Linked DNA regions of Homo sapiens: all the other regions are linked to region 1. Evidence: promoter capture Hi-C in 16 types of primary human blood cells and fetal thymus (Javierre and others, 2016). All regions are on one chromosome and are shown on one strand. Each heading gives the region's core, a stretch centred on a gene start or on the middle of the fragment in contact. The rest is flanking DNA. Distances are from core to core; before and after follow the strand shown. Region 1 holds the start of MARCKS (myristoylated alanine rich protein kinase C substrate). Region 2 overlaps TRAF3IP2 (TRAF3 interacting protein 2). Region 3 overlaps REV3L (REV3 like, DNA directed polymerase zeta catalytic subunit). Region 4 holds the start of AMD1 (adenosylmethionine decarboxylase 1).

Evidence for each region. Contacts are between HindIII fragments. The CHiCAGO score rates a contact against its expected background, and 5 or more counts as called.
Region 2: a contact is called between a fragment that was not itself captured here and the fragment with the promoter of MARCKS in region 1, in 1 of 17 cell types (fetal thymus). The highest score is 5.7, in fetal thymus.
Region 3: a contact is called between a fragment that was not itself captured here and the fragment with the promoter of MARCKS in region 1, in 1 of 17 cell types (fetal thymus). The highest score is 11.2, in fetal thymus.
Region 4: a contact is called between the fragment with the promoter of AMD1 here and the fragment with the promoter of MARCKS in region 1, in 1 of 17 cell types (fetal thymus). The highest score is 5.3, in fetal thymus.

The regions. Positions count from the first base shown.
Region 1 is chr6:113,855,726-113,858,775 of GRCh38, reverse strand. MARCKS (myristoylated alanine rich protein kinase C substrate) reads right to left here and starts at 1,431. Exons shown (of 2, transcript NM_002356.7): 1 at 929-1,431. The coding sequence starts at 1,030. RefSeq lists enhancers at 1,350-1,399, 1,187-1,730, 1,731-2,276, 2,547-2,596, 2,617-2,676. The HindIII fragment of the contact is 4,373 bases long and covers 1-2,562 here.
Region 2 is chr6:111,601,535-111,604,644 of GRCh38, reverse strand. All of the region lies in intron 1 of TRAF3IP2 (TRAF3 interacting protein 2), which reads left to right. It also overlaps TRAF3IP2-AS1. Among named protein-coding and RNA genes, the nearest start is that of TRAF3IP2, 2.8 kb to the left of the region's middle. The HindIII fragment of the contact is 3,499 bases long and covers 1-2,999 here.
Region 3 is chr6:111,478,614-111,481,451 of GRCh38, reverse strand. All of the region lies in intron 1 of REV3L (REV3 like, DNA directed polymerase zeta catalytic subunit), which reads left to right. Among named protein-coding and RNA genes, the nearest start is that of REV3L, 3.2 kb to the left of the region's middle. RefSeq lists an enhancer at 2,086-2,810. The HindIII fragment of the contact is 2,284 bases long and covers 398-2,681 here.
Region 4 is chr6:110,873,463-110,876,531 of GRCh38, reverse strand. AMD1 (adenosylmethionine decarboxylase 1) reads right to left here and starts at 1,747. Exons shown (of 9, transcript NM_001634.6): 1 at 1,317-1,747. The coding sequence starts at 1,426. RefSeq lists enhancers at 1-609, 610-1,325 and silencers at 573-762, 793-862, 923-1,172. The HindIII fragment of the contact is 4,442 bases long and covers 456-3,069 here.

The DNA.
Region 1 (3,050 bases), core at 182-2,681:
TTCCCCAGTAGGTTAGAGCAGGCGAAGCGACACGATCTCTTCTCTAGGAAAAGAGGCGTGGTGGGTGCCCAGTGTTTGCGAAGCAGCCACCCATGGCCGACCTCTCGGGTCCACCCAATCGTGGCTATCTGCCTGGGTCCGGGCAGCGCCGGGCGGCCCCTCGCGGGTGGTCGAGGCGCCACGCACAAGAACAATCCCGACCGAAAGGCACGAACCGCCTCTTTTTGACCATCTGGAAAGGTTCTTAAAGGACCCACCGAGTGTTCCCACCCCACAGATACCATTTAAAAATCAAATGGATGTGTAATTCCACAGACAGCTACGAATAAAGATTTAGGACAGTGGGAAAGCCTCATCAAAAGGTACCGAAGCCCTCTGTCTGGCCCCAGCCAGCCACCTTTCCAAGAACCCAGGGCACGCCGCCGCGGCATACAATAAGACAGCCTTTCCCTCCTCGCCTTTCTCCACCACCATCCCCATTGCGCCCCCCTTTCCCGACTCCCCCCCCCGCCACACACAATCACACCACCAGTTCAGAAATCTCGAAGACAATCCAGCTTCGACAACAAACCCGAGAGACACCCAAACACCATTGTGCCCCCAAACACAAATGAAACCTGGCTGGGGGCGGGGGAAGGAGGGCACCTAGCTAGTCACGTTCTGCCAATCTCCAAACCACGCCATTTTAGACGATTTATCACTCCTTTCCTCCCGTCTACTCAAGAATTCTCCAGGATTCTAAGGAACCACTCCTTTGGTGTGGGGGGACCCCGGCTATGAAAAATCCACAATTTAGGCTATCCATTTCCATTCAACTTTCAGACTAGAATCCAGCCACACTCCTCTCCACGAATGAGCCTTGGGAGCCACCAGGAGGGAAGGAGAGAAAGACACGAAATAAATGACCACAACCACAGGTAGAATTTACCTGTCCGTTCGCTTTGGAAGGCGACGAGGCCACAGCCGCCTCCCCAGGCCTCTCCGCGGCGGCTTCTCCCTTCGCTGCGGTCTTGGAGAACTGGGCACCCATGCTGGCTTCTTCAACAAAGAAACTCAACAGATCCAAGAGGGGAAACAAAGAGCCTCGGGTTGGTGTAACGACGGGGCGAGCAGCAGCAGCAGCGGCGGCGGCAACAGCGGCAGCGGCACACACACCGGAGGGAGGGGGGTGGGGGTGGTGGAGAGGACAGAACAGAACCGATTAAATACACTCCGGATAAAAAAATTTTAGTCGAAGAGATCAAAAAGCAGCAGCACAGGAGGGAGGGAAAAAGGGTGGAAAAGTCGAGCACAAAAAAAGGAGCCCAAGTGTAGTTCGAAAAAAAAAGAAGTAATAAAAAAATCCCAGATTTGTAGCCGCACTGTAGACAAGAGGAAAATGGAGAAATCTCCCTGGTTGCTAATAAGATGCGGGGTCCAACGCCCAAGTGCACAGATGAATGGGCTCGCGGGCGCTGACGCGGCCCCCGCGCGCGTCGGCCAATCCGCGCGCCGCACACAAAGCAGGGGGCGGGGTCTGCGCGCCTGGCGAACAATGGAGCCGCGCTTTGCAAACGGTTTGAAAATCAGCCTCAGACCGAGAATTAATGTCCTCCAAATAAATAAATCAATTAAAAAATACATGGCACTCGTCTCTCTCTGCTTGAAAATAATAATGCATTTCTTGATTGGCTTGCTTTGTTTGGAATTAATTAACACGGGAGGGGGGTACTTGTGCATCGGGGCGGAGAAAGCGTTAACTTGACTCGCATTGACTCTCGTCGGTCTATATCCGTGTGTCTCTCTCTCTCCACTCGCTCCCCTCCCCCATCTTTCCGTGTGTTTATGTGTATGTGTGTGTATGCGAGTGTTAAAGACAATGGTTGCGATTTGTGTGTTTGCAGCATGTTTTCTTTCTTTTTTCCATATTGGTTTTACAGATAATGCTCAGGGTTTGTTTTTTGAACTGCTGCAATGGTTAAATCGTCCCAAATTGAAAGGTATTTAAACCACGAAGATCGAATTTCATCAAGCGAGATCGCAAGTTAGAATTAGGTCTGTAGGCCAGATGTGGAAAATGCAAAAGCGGCAAACAGCGAAGCCACACTCCCTTCCCTCTCCCACATTGGCATGAAATAAAATATTTTGAGATTGGCCTTGGGCGCTCAACAAATTCCCCCTTCTCTGGCTATTCCCAATTAGTGATTTTTTTCCCCCACAATTCAAAGTGAGAGCCATTTACAGAAGATCGAAACTCTTCGCGTTTTATCACTGTTTTAAATGACATAATTTTCCTCTATGGTGAAATGAGACACAGCCTCGAGTAGACGAATCCATATTTACAGTTGGGATGTTATTCGCGTCAATATGGATCGTTTTCAGCCTACTGCCAGAATCGAATGGACTCTTTTTGAACGTGTGTGTGAGTGCGCACGCAGGCGAATGTGCTCCTGAAAGGAAGGGAGGCAGCAGCAACGATGACATTCTAAACCGGATTGCAGTTCTAAGGAGAAATGTTCTGTATGTTGAGAGATAGCAAGATCCCTGAGCTCTCCAAGTCTAACTTGGGTTAGAGGAAAACCTTCTATAATGGTACACAGGATACCTCCATCTGTCACTGCACTCCTTGCCACCGAAGTACCAGACGCTTTTTGTGCGTGAGAGACAAGGCACTGACTTAAAGTATGAGGGGTGAGGGGAACCAAGGAAACAGCTTAATAAGCATTTTCTTCCCAAAGTTTTCACTCGTGGCAAAATCAGACCACCTTTTCTCGTTTACATTTGGTGATCTTGCAAGGAATAATCTTTCGCTTATGAAGGTGAGAAGCAGTCGAGGGAATGGTTCATTTCTCCTGGTGCTGGCTCTGAATTCTCAAACAGTTTTATTTTCTGCTCATTGTAGGGAAATAGGTCACACTCTGAGTGAAAAAGACGGTTGGTTCAAGCCAGTAACTCTTTGTTCAAGCGTTGCTTTAAAAATCACCAAGCTGAACATTGTTACGTGAAGCTTCGTCTTCTCACTGTCCAGTTCCTTCAGATGCATTATTCGACCATGGTCATATTCCCCAGAG
Region 2 (3,110 bases), core at 1-2,500, 2.3 Mb after region 1:
AGCAGCAGTCAGGGCGAAAGGCTGGGAGACACGTGTCTCTGCGGGAGGGCTGCCTGGAATTGAGGCCTTATTACTGGCTCTAGCCAAATAGGAGAAAACAGGGAGTTTCTCGAATTAGTTCATGTCCCATTTGGGTTACCCAGGAAGGATAGTCTGTGCTATTGTCCACAGAGTCAAGGCAGGCCAGAGAACTGGCAGACAAGCCCAGCTCCAGAAGCCAGAGTTACTGCTGTAGCTGGACCTGGAAACCACTCCTCAGCTGGACCAGTCACTGTGTGTGGGGCCTTTAATGGGAGGGGAAGGGAAACTATGAAACACATCCTAATACCATGTAAGGGTGATGACTGTGATTAGAGACATTATTAGATGGCGGATACACAGAATCCTTAACTTTTTCCAGACCGTGACTTAAAAAAAAATTGTCATTGTTTCTTTTTGGCAATTACTTGCCATCAATACAGTTCAAACAGGCCCTAGCTGACTGGGATGGGCTGGTGCAGGACTTTTGGTTTCTGTGGGATGTCCTGGTGTAGTCCGTGTCATGTTTTTAGGCATTTCTCTCTATTCCCCTGGGATGAAAGGACAGGAATTTCAAGATATTTCACCTGCAATGAGTTCCTGATTTTATTTTCAAACAACGATGCACCATTATCTGAAAGCAGGCTAACTGTTGTGCACTTGCCAGCCTCGCTCTAATCCTTAAAGGCCACACACCACAGTCATTCTTAATCTGCTGCTGCAGCTACCAGTCACTCCATGATGGAGCATCAAAAGATGGATAATGTAGTTACTCTGCTCTGTTCCTTGCATGGGGTGGGTTAAACAGAAGTGAGGTCTGAGTAATGTACCAACATGTCGGATAGAAAGGTTCTTAACTCAGGGTTACTCATTTTTGGAAGGTGTAGAGACAGGAAATGTTAAAGCCTGCTTCTCCTGGGATTAAGGAGTTAGTGACTTTCAAATGCTCTGAAAAGAAAAAGAAGAGGAGAAGACAGTCATATCTGCAGGCATTCTTCAACAGGCATTCAGAAAGATTATGGTGGGGTAGTTTGTCTAAATGAAATCTTTGTTTTACACGTTGTAGAATGGAAATCTCAGGAATATCCTGAATTCAAATCATTTTTCTTCTGCAGGCAATTTTAAATTAGCTTCTAAAAACATATATGAATTGCAGGCAACTGCTGCAGAAAAAAAAGAGTGAACACAGATGAGGCATATTCAACTTTAAATTCCTTTCAGATCCAATGAAATGACCCCTAATGTTTGATCACATTTCCTTATCAAAACAATCCTGCAGTCTGAAGGATTTTTCCATGAGAAAGTGTCTGAGGACTGGAATCAAGAAGCTGCCCCCCGGGCCTCTCCTGTTTCTTCCCAATGCGTTGTCACCAAGATATTTTTAGTTCATGAAACTCAGGCTGTCCTTTCTCCCACTTATGGTCTTTGCCTCCCGTGCCCAGCAGGCCTCCTAGAAGCACACATGTGCTTGGCTGTGACTACTCAGCTCACTCTGTAGCTGTGTGTGCACGCCTTGTGTGTGTGTGTGTGTGTGTGTGTGTGCACACCTTGTGTGTGCACAGACCTTCCCGGATACCAGGAGTTGTAGACTGGCTGAAGAAGGGTGGGCTTCCATCCATGGGGTGATCCTTAGGTCTGTGCTGGTTTGGCTTGGTTCCCTGATAAGGCAGCTGAACTCAAGCCCTTTAGGAGGGCCAGGACTGACCGGAGCTCCCAGCCTGTGCCCCTCTCCTCGCACCCCACAGGCCGCACCCCACAGACTGAGGCTGCCTGGGGTCTTGGCAGCTCCCTCAGCAATGAGGGATACTTGCTCTCCGCTGCCTCATTGTTTCCCTGCAGTCAGGATGCCAGTGTTTTTTCCCTTTCCCCTTCCCAGAGTCAACAGGTCTCCCTCCCCGCTCTGAACTCTCTTCCTACTCTGAGCTGTCTGTCCAAACTCTTCCTGGCCTCCCAGCTTACCCTATGACACTCTTACCTTTCACCTATATTCATTCTTTCCCTTCTCTTCCAACTGCCCCTTCTCATACCCAGCACTACATACAAATTACAAGTAAATAAGTGTCTCTCCTACACCAATAAAAGGCAAATACAAAAAAATCCTTCAGCGTTTCCCCACTTTCCTTACTTCTCTTCCGTTCTCCTTCCTTCCTTTCTCTCCCTTCCTCTTCCTCTCTTGGTTTTTCCTTTCTACCCCTTCCTCTCCTTCACTCCGTGGCTGTGGCTGAATTAGGGATCACACATGTGCTTAGAGAAACCATCTTATCTGAAGAAACAAAAAAACAAAAACCAAAACAATGACAACGACAGAAAAAAAAAAAAAACATGGGCTGGTTTGAGGTTGTTCTCTAAATGTTTATTATAACTTCTAATGTGATGGAGTCAGTGTGTTCCCATTAGTCCTTCTCCTCCTCATTTAGTAGCTCAGAGGAGTCCCAGAGCAAACTTCCTCAAATCAGGTCGGTTCATACTGCACTGCCTTCAGCCTGATGTGAGTCTTACTGTGCTGGGTTTATGTCCAAGGGCCAGTAAATATTCCCTTCCTTCCAGGGCTCACCACTGTTTCAAATCCTCTGGCAAGCCCAGTGGAAGAACTTCTCTGTATGGGAAATTCAGCAAGTAAACTTGGAAGTATTTGTTCATTGGAGTTTGAATCTGAGCCAAACAGTTCACTCAAAACCAACCTTCCACTCAGCAAACCAGTGTTATGAAAGTTTGCATGCATTTGGGCAGGAAACAAAGGACATTAATGAGTTTAAAGATTTTTTTTTAAATCCATGACTTTTGGACATTTATTAAAAAGATTACTCTCTGGGGAATGAAGTAAGGCCTTGGGAATCTTGTAATTGAAAGTTTCTGATCCGAAGTAGATCTCAGGATCCTCCCAGCTGTAAATTTATAGATTTCTTTTTAATGTCCACCTGAAATATTCATGCTGTGTGTCTCTAGGACGCTTCAAACCTATTCCTGACTCAAAGAAAGCTTAAGAAAAAATCCAAGCAGTTGTGATCACCAAGGCCTGATTATGGAGGAGCTGTTAATATGGTTTATTAATTACTCAGGCTGCTCACTCCTGTCCTTCCTCTGTTCCTTGC
Region 3 (2,838 bases), core at 290-2,789, 2.4 Mb after region 1:
TGATTTTGATATGAACCTTGAAAGATGGGGAATTTGAGTGCTTTTAACGTGTTGAAAGTGTAACACTTGAAACTTTGGAGGCTGGGAAATCGAGGCGATGAAGTGTTCTATAAGATAGGTTTTCTGCCCTTTTAAATATAGTGGTGCTGTCTTTGTTTCCAATTGGAATTTCAGTGTAATGCACTGTTCTCACTTCAGATGCAGAGGAAGGATAAAATAGTGAAGTTGATATGGCCCTGTTCAGCCAAATTTCCGAATCATAAAGTGACATGCTAATAGGATATACTGTGGCATTTCTGTGTATTACAGCTTGTATGGTTTGAGTTACTTTTCCACACATAATTTTTTCTCCTCCACACAAGTCATTAAATATGTTTTCCTGAGAGATAGTCAAGCTTTGTTGTATAGGAAAGTTTCGTTTGTGGAAATAAATGAGTTTCACTGTAAGCTAATGTAATTCTATTACGTGAGGAAATGTTCCTTAAAAAATAAAGAATATTATATACTGTTGTTTTCCTGAATATTTTTTAAAAGACACATTAACTATTTCCTATTTAATCCTTCATGGACATCCCACAATAGATTACCAGCACCTTAAAAAAAAAAAAAAAAACAAAAACGAAAAAACCAAAGACTAAAAACCCCCATTGGGGTTTTTTTTTTGGTACATACTTTGAAATTTATATTTTAAATGAATTAAAAAGTAACACTTTTTATATGTACATTGAAAGACATAAAACTTGATACAGAGAAAGTCAAATTTTAAATTGTTAAGGATTATCAAATTGAATTTGCCATGTAGTTCACAGTTTCCAACAAAATGTTTGTTTCAACAAGAAAAAATTTGAAGTCATTGGCATACATTTAGAGTTTACACTTTTCATAAACCAAGCCAGCATTTTTATTAGCACGTCAGAAACTCCCAGTGAGATTAATATTAATTAAACATAATCAAAAACTGCAGAATTACCTGCTTTTGAATTATCTCCCCAAGGAAAACTAGTCCAATAAAATAAAACTTGAAAATTATTAATATAAAAGAGAGGCCAGTCTGACTTAGTAAAACTCTGAATGCTAGAATTTTTAATGAAGACAGATTTATTTGAAAGTAAAGATGTAAACATAATGCAAAGATATAAACATGGTTTGTATTATATCTTTATAGTTTATATCTTTACTAACAAGTAAAATAAGGTAATAAAAATGTGTAACACATGATAAACCTATGCTACATAAAATAGCATAAACATACTTTTTTCATATATAAGAATTACTTTGGGAGGTCCTTAATGCTTTACTTTGGTTTGGAGAGAAAATGTTTTAAAATTGACTTTGCTTTACAAATGAGATCCTGAAAAATAGCAACCAAAGATATTTTTTCTCAAATGAAGTGGCCGTTTCAAAATTATATTACAAATTCTGAACTGATTGGATTAATACCCTTTTACTAGTTTAGTTTTTCTATTATTGCCTGAAAAGCATTTTTCTGCTTTAGAAAACAGTCCAGTTGACTTTTGATTGTTCTGTGTTTTGAGGACGTATCTTGAGTAATTTAAGAAATAAAGTGTTTTGGGTTTAAAAGCTCCCATGTCTTAAGTTGGTGAAATTTGAAAAGGTATTTTTAAAAAGAGGGATATTCAGGGCTGGGTGCTGTGGCTCATGCCTGTAATCCCAACACTTTGGAAGACAGAGGCAGGAGGATCGCTTGAACCCAGGAGTTGGAGACCAGCCTGGGCGACATAGTCTGTACAAAACAAACAAACAAACAAACAAAATTGGCTGGGCGTGGTGGTGTGCACCTGTAGTACTAGCTATTTGGAAAGCTGAGACAGGAGAATCGCTTCAGCCCAGAAGGTTGAGGCTGCAGTGAGCCAAGATCACGCCACTGCACTCCAGCCTGGGCAACAGAGCAAGAGCCTGTCTTAAAAAAAAAAAAAAAAAAGGCGGGGGGGGATATTCAGATTTGAATGGTAAATCCTGACTGATTTAATCCCTTGCCAACTGAGGATATTGATTCCTAAGGGAATCACTTAAAGTTTCTTCATCTGAGTTATGGAATTTTTTAAAAAACAAAAACAAATTTCCTCTCCATTTTTTTAACTAGTTTTTAAAATGTCTTGAACATTATTTTGACATAATCAAATTGAGCAGTATCATTTGTAGAATAAATTGTTAATTTTTTCTTTTAGAACAACATTTTGGTAACTTGTTTTAATGGAGGGAAGAAAGGTTGTGAATAAAGTATAGGACAATGTTTTTTCATTTAGATTTGAATATAGGTGTGACCACTCAGAGGATTCACTACAAATGAAATCATCAGGCTTCATTTAAGGATTTGACTGAGGTGGACTTGGGAAGCTGTCCATTTTCCACATCTCGACTTTTGCTTAGTTGCTTGATGTAACTCACTTCATGCTGAGTTTAGACAGCTCTCACAGTTTCCTCAGCACCAGGTTAAACAGAACTATCCTTTCAAAGAGCTTCCCTGCTGAGATGCAGAGTAGGAGTAAATAGAAGAGTGTGGGATGTCCACAAAGCAAGGAATTAAACAAAGTAGGCCAGACAGACTATAGAGGGAGCTGCTTGTCTTTAAGATTACTCTAAGGAACTCTGCCACTTCCTCTAGCTTAGTGAATATTTTGGTAGATTGTTCTAGATACTGTTAGCCATGAAATCAAGCTTTTCAACATAAGGAATTGATAATTCTGAAATGCTATATAAGTTTATGTAGATGCTTATCCAATTATAAATATATTCTCATTGTTTATATTTTATAAAATTAAATATAAGAAACTACCAGAATAACCTTTTTTTTTTTTTTTGGTAAATTGGAGTTAA
Region 4 (3,069 bases), core at 498-2,997, 3.0 Mb after region 1:
GTCGTGCCTTAAAGTCTCGGTAGCACGTGTCTGCCTGGATTCCCTTTTCCAGTTGCTTTTTGTCAAGGGACAGCTCCAAGAACAGCTAACACTCCTAAAACGCCCATTGGTCCACACCCTGGGGCCAGGCTCTGAGTGCGGCCCAGGAGCCCATTGGTCGCCGCCTCTCAATGAAGCTGGCCACGCCAGTTACTCCGCTGCACCGCCACCCTAGCCGCACTCGTGCGCAGAGGAGCCAGGGATCCGGTGGCAGGGCCTAGGAAGGCCATTGGTGGCCACCGGTGCGACCGCCGCCAGGAACAAGGCCTAAGCATCCACGGGATCTCTGGGCTTTTATATAAGCATGGATTTCCACAGCAATACCAACTAAAACGCCTCTTCGGCGCGGTCAGCCCAAGTATCTCTCGCGTGACGGCCCGCAGTGGGAGTGGGCCCCAGATTCCTTTGCTCAAGCTTAAGGCATTAGAGGCATTATGTCCTGGGGCAGGCGGGCCTCCCTCCACCCGCACCTCTCCCGCCCCGCTCCGCCGGCTCCGTAGCAGGTTACACAACCCAAGGTCAAGAGATTGGGGAGCAGCCCCCAGCGGCCTCAGCGGCCGTGTCGAGGGCGGCCCCGGGGACTGCGCCGTCTGCCCAGCCGCCCCGAAAAGGCTCTGGCGCAGAGCATGTTAGGGGAGCGGTGGGGCCCCGCCACTGCGACATAACTGCTCCCGCCCAATCCCCGCCGCCCGAACGCCACATGCTGCCCGCGGCCGCCGCGGGTGGGAGGCCTCTTCGCCAGCCCCTCAGACAAGGCCGGGAGGGCCCCTCCTATCCGCGCCCGAGGCAAGAACAAGCGCCGCTCCCGCCCTCCATTCCCCGAAGCCGGCACGCCCGAATTAGCGCCTGACTAAGCCCGCCGAGCCACACCTGCCGGAGGCAACCCGCGCAGGCGCCCCCGACCCCCACCTGGGGCCCCTGCCGCCAACTACTACGGAGGGAAATGTCGGGAGGCGCGGGCCGCAAAACCACCCCGGGCCGCGCCGCCCGCCGCCCAGCGCGGGACGTTACCTGAGCACGCGGCCGCGCCGGCCTCCTCCCCTCCCCCAGGGCAATGCCAGGCGCGGCAACCACGGCGGGAGAAGCCGGCTCCGGCCCGCGTGGACATGGCCGCTCTCCCCCAAACCGCGCACCTTCCAAGGCCGCCGAAGCGACCCCAGGCCGCAGACTTGCCCCCAACTGAAAGCTGAGGGAACTCGGGCTCCACCCGTGGCTGGTGCCTCGGCGGCGGCGACAGCCCCCAGGCCCGGATGTCAGCGAGCGCCCCGGGGACCCACCTTGGGATAGTGCGAAGATCCCCAGATCCTTGGTTTGCGTCGGGCTGCTGCCGGGAGAACCAAACCTCCAGCAGCTTCTCGGTCCCTTCGAAAAAATGTGCAGCTTCCATCACCGTGAGACTAGCGAACAACCAACAACCACAGAAAATCAACTAAATTAAACCTCTTCTCCCGCCGCTGCCGCCGCCGCTGCGGATTGTTCCAGCTGTGTTACTAAAGTTCAGGTTCCTTTTTTTTTTTGCTATAATTTTATATTAACTTTTTTTAAAAAAAGGACTAATAAAATTTTCCCGGCTTTGTGTGAGCGAAAGTTGAACGTGAGTCTTTTGGAAATAGAGGCAGATACAGTTCAGTCTCTTGTATTCCGCTGCTTTCCCGTTAGAGAGAGTAGAGCGAGCGCTAGCTAATGTCGCCGGCCATACTGTGTAAGCGAGAGCGCTGCGTGAGCACCGCCCTTATATATCCCGGCTCCCCCCAAAAGACCAGGAAGTGACGCATCGTCCCACCTCCACGGCCTATAGCTGCTGCCGCCTGTCAATCACTCGCGGCCGAGTGGCGGCTGGCTGGCCGAGGGCCTGGCGGAGAGCGCGGGGAGCTGCCCACTGCGCTGCGGCTCGGGCTCTGGCCGGCTCCTGAGTGGGAGTTGGTGCTGTGATGTCCAGCTGGGGACTAGAAACCTCGGATCGAACGCAGAGTGGGTGGGGAGAGCGGGAACGGAATGAGGAAAGGCTGTGCAGAGCTGTTTAGAAAAAAAAAATGATTAGCAGAAAACATGGGTGGGTCCTTAGGGGTGTTGGCGGGGTTCAGCGGGGACGGTGGCCAGCGCTGGGTTGGCGTGGTGGTTTTGATCTTGTGCAGTTCACCGCGACTGCTGAGGTACTTGGCCATTCTTAAAAGTGTGTTTTCCCAAGGCGAACGCAGCCAGGCGTTAAAACTAAACATTTGTCCGTGACGCGCACGTTGCCAGGGGTCGAATTAGAAGGCGCTTTAATTCTGCTCACGCCTTGGCTGATGTGCGAATGAAAGCAGTCCTCGGCTGGTTTATACAATAGCCAGAAGCATTGTCTTCCTATTTCAGAAGAGAAAAGCAACGTGGCGCCCAGCCTTGGAGGGCCCCGGCTTTACCCACCTCCCACCGTGTGGCTCGCCATGCCTCCGAATTGGCTGAGCACAGCAGCCTCCGGGAAGCACTGGCAGCTCCGTTGCTCCATTAGCTCAACTGGTGGGAATTTATTCAGCAAAACTACTTCTAGAAACTGAATGTGTTAAATATAATCTGAACTTATTTGATCATGTTTTTCTTTGAATTTTATCAAGCTGATGTATTAATTGATGGAGGTTCTCCTTACCCCCCAAAATTTACAGTGCTATCTTCCCATGTGCTTAAGAAGGATTTACCTGGAAATTAATAAAACAGGGATTCCAGAGCTATCACTGGTGGTAACTTAAATAACTATCAGTCTAATATTTTATAAGTGTTAAGTATAAAATAGTCGTCAAGCCATGGTCAAACAGTTTAACCTCAGATGGCAAAACTGGTAACAAAGTTATTACTTTTACTTGGGAATATGGGAGGAAAAAAACCCAAGCTGACATAAAAATTGCTATTGTCACAAGACAAAAGGACTTTTCGCTATCATCCTTAGAAAAAAACTTTCCCCAAAGTGAAATAAGATGATGTCAACATGAAAAATCCACTGAAAAAGACATGGTTTGGGTTTGCACTCTAGATACCCTGTAGAATAGCTCTTGT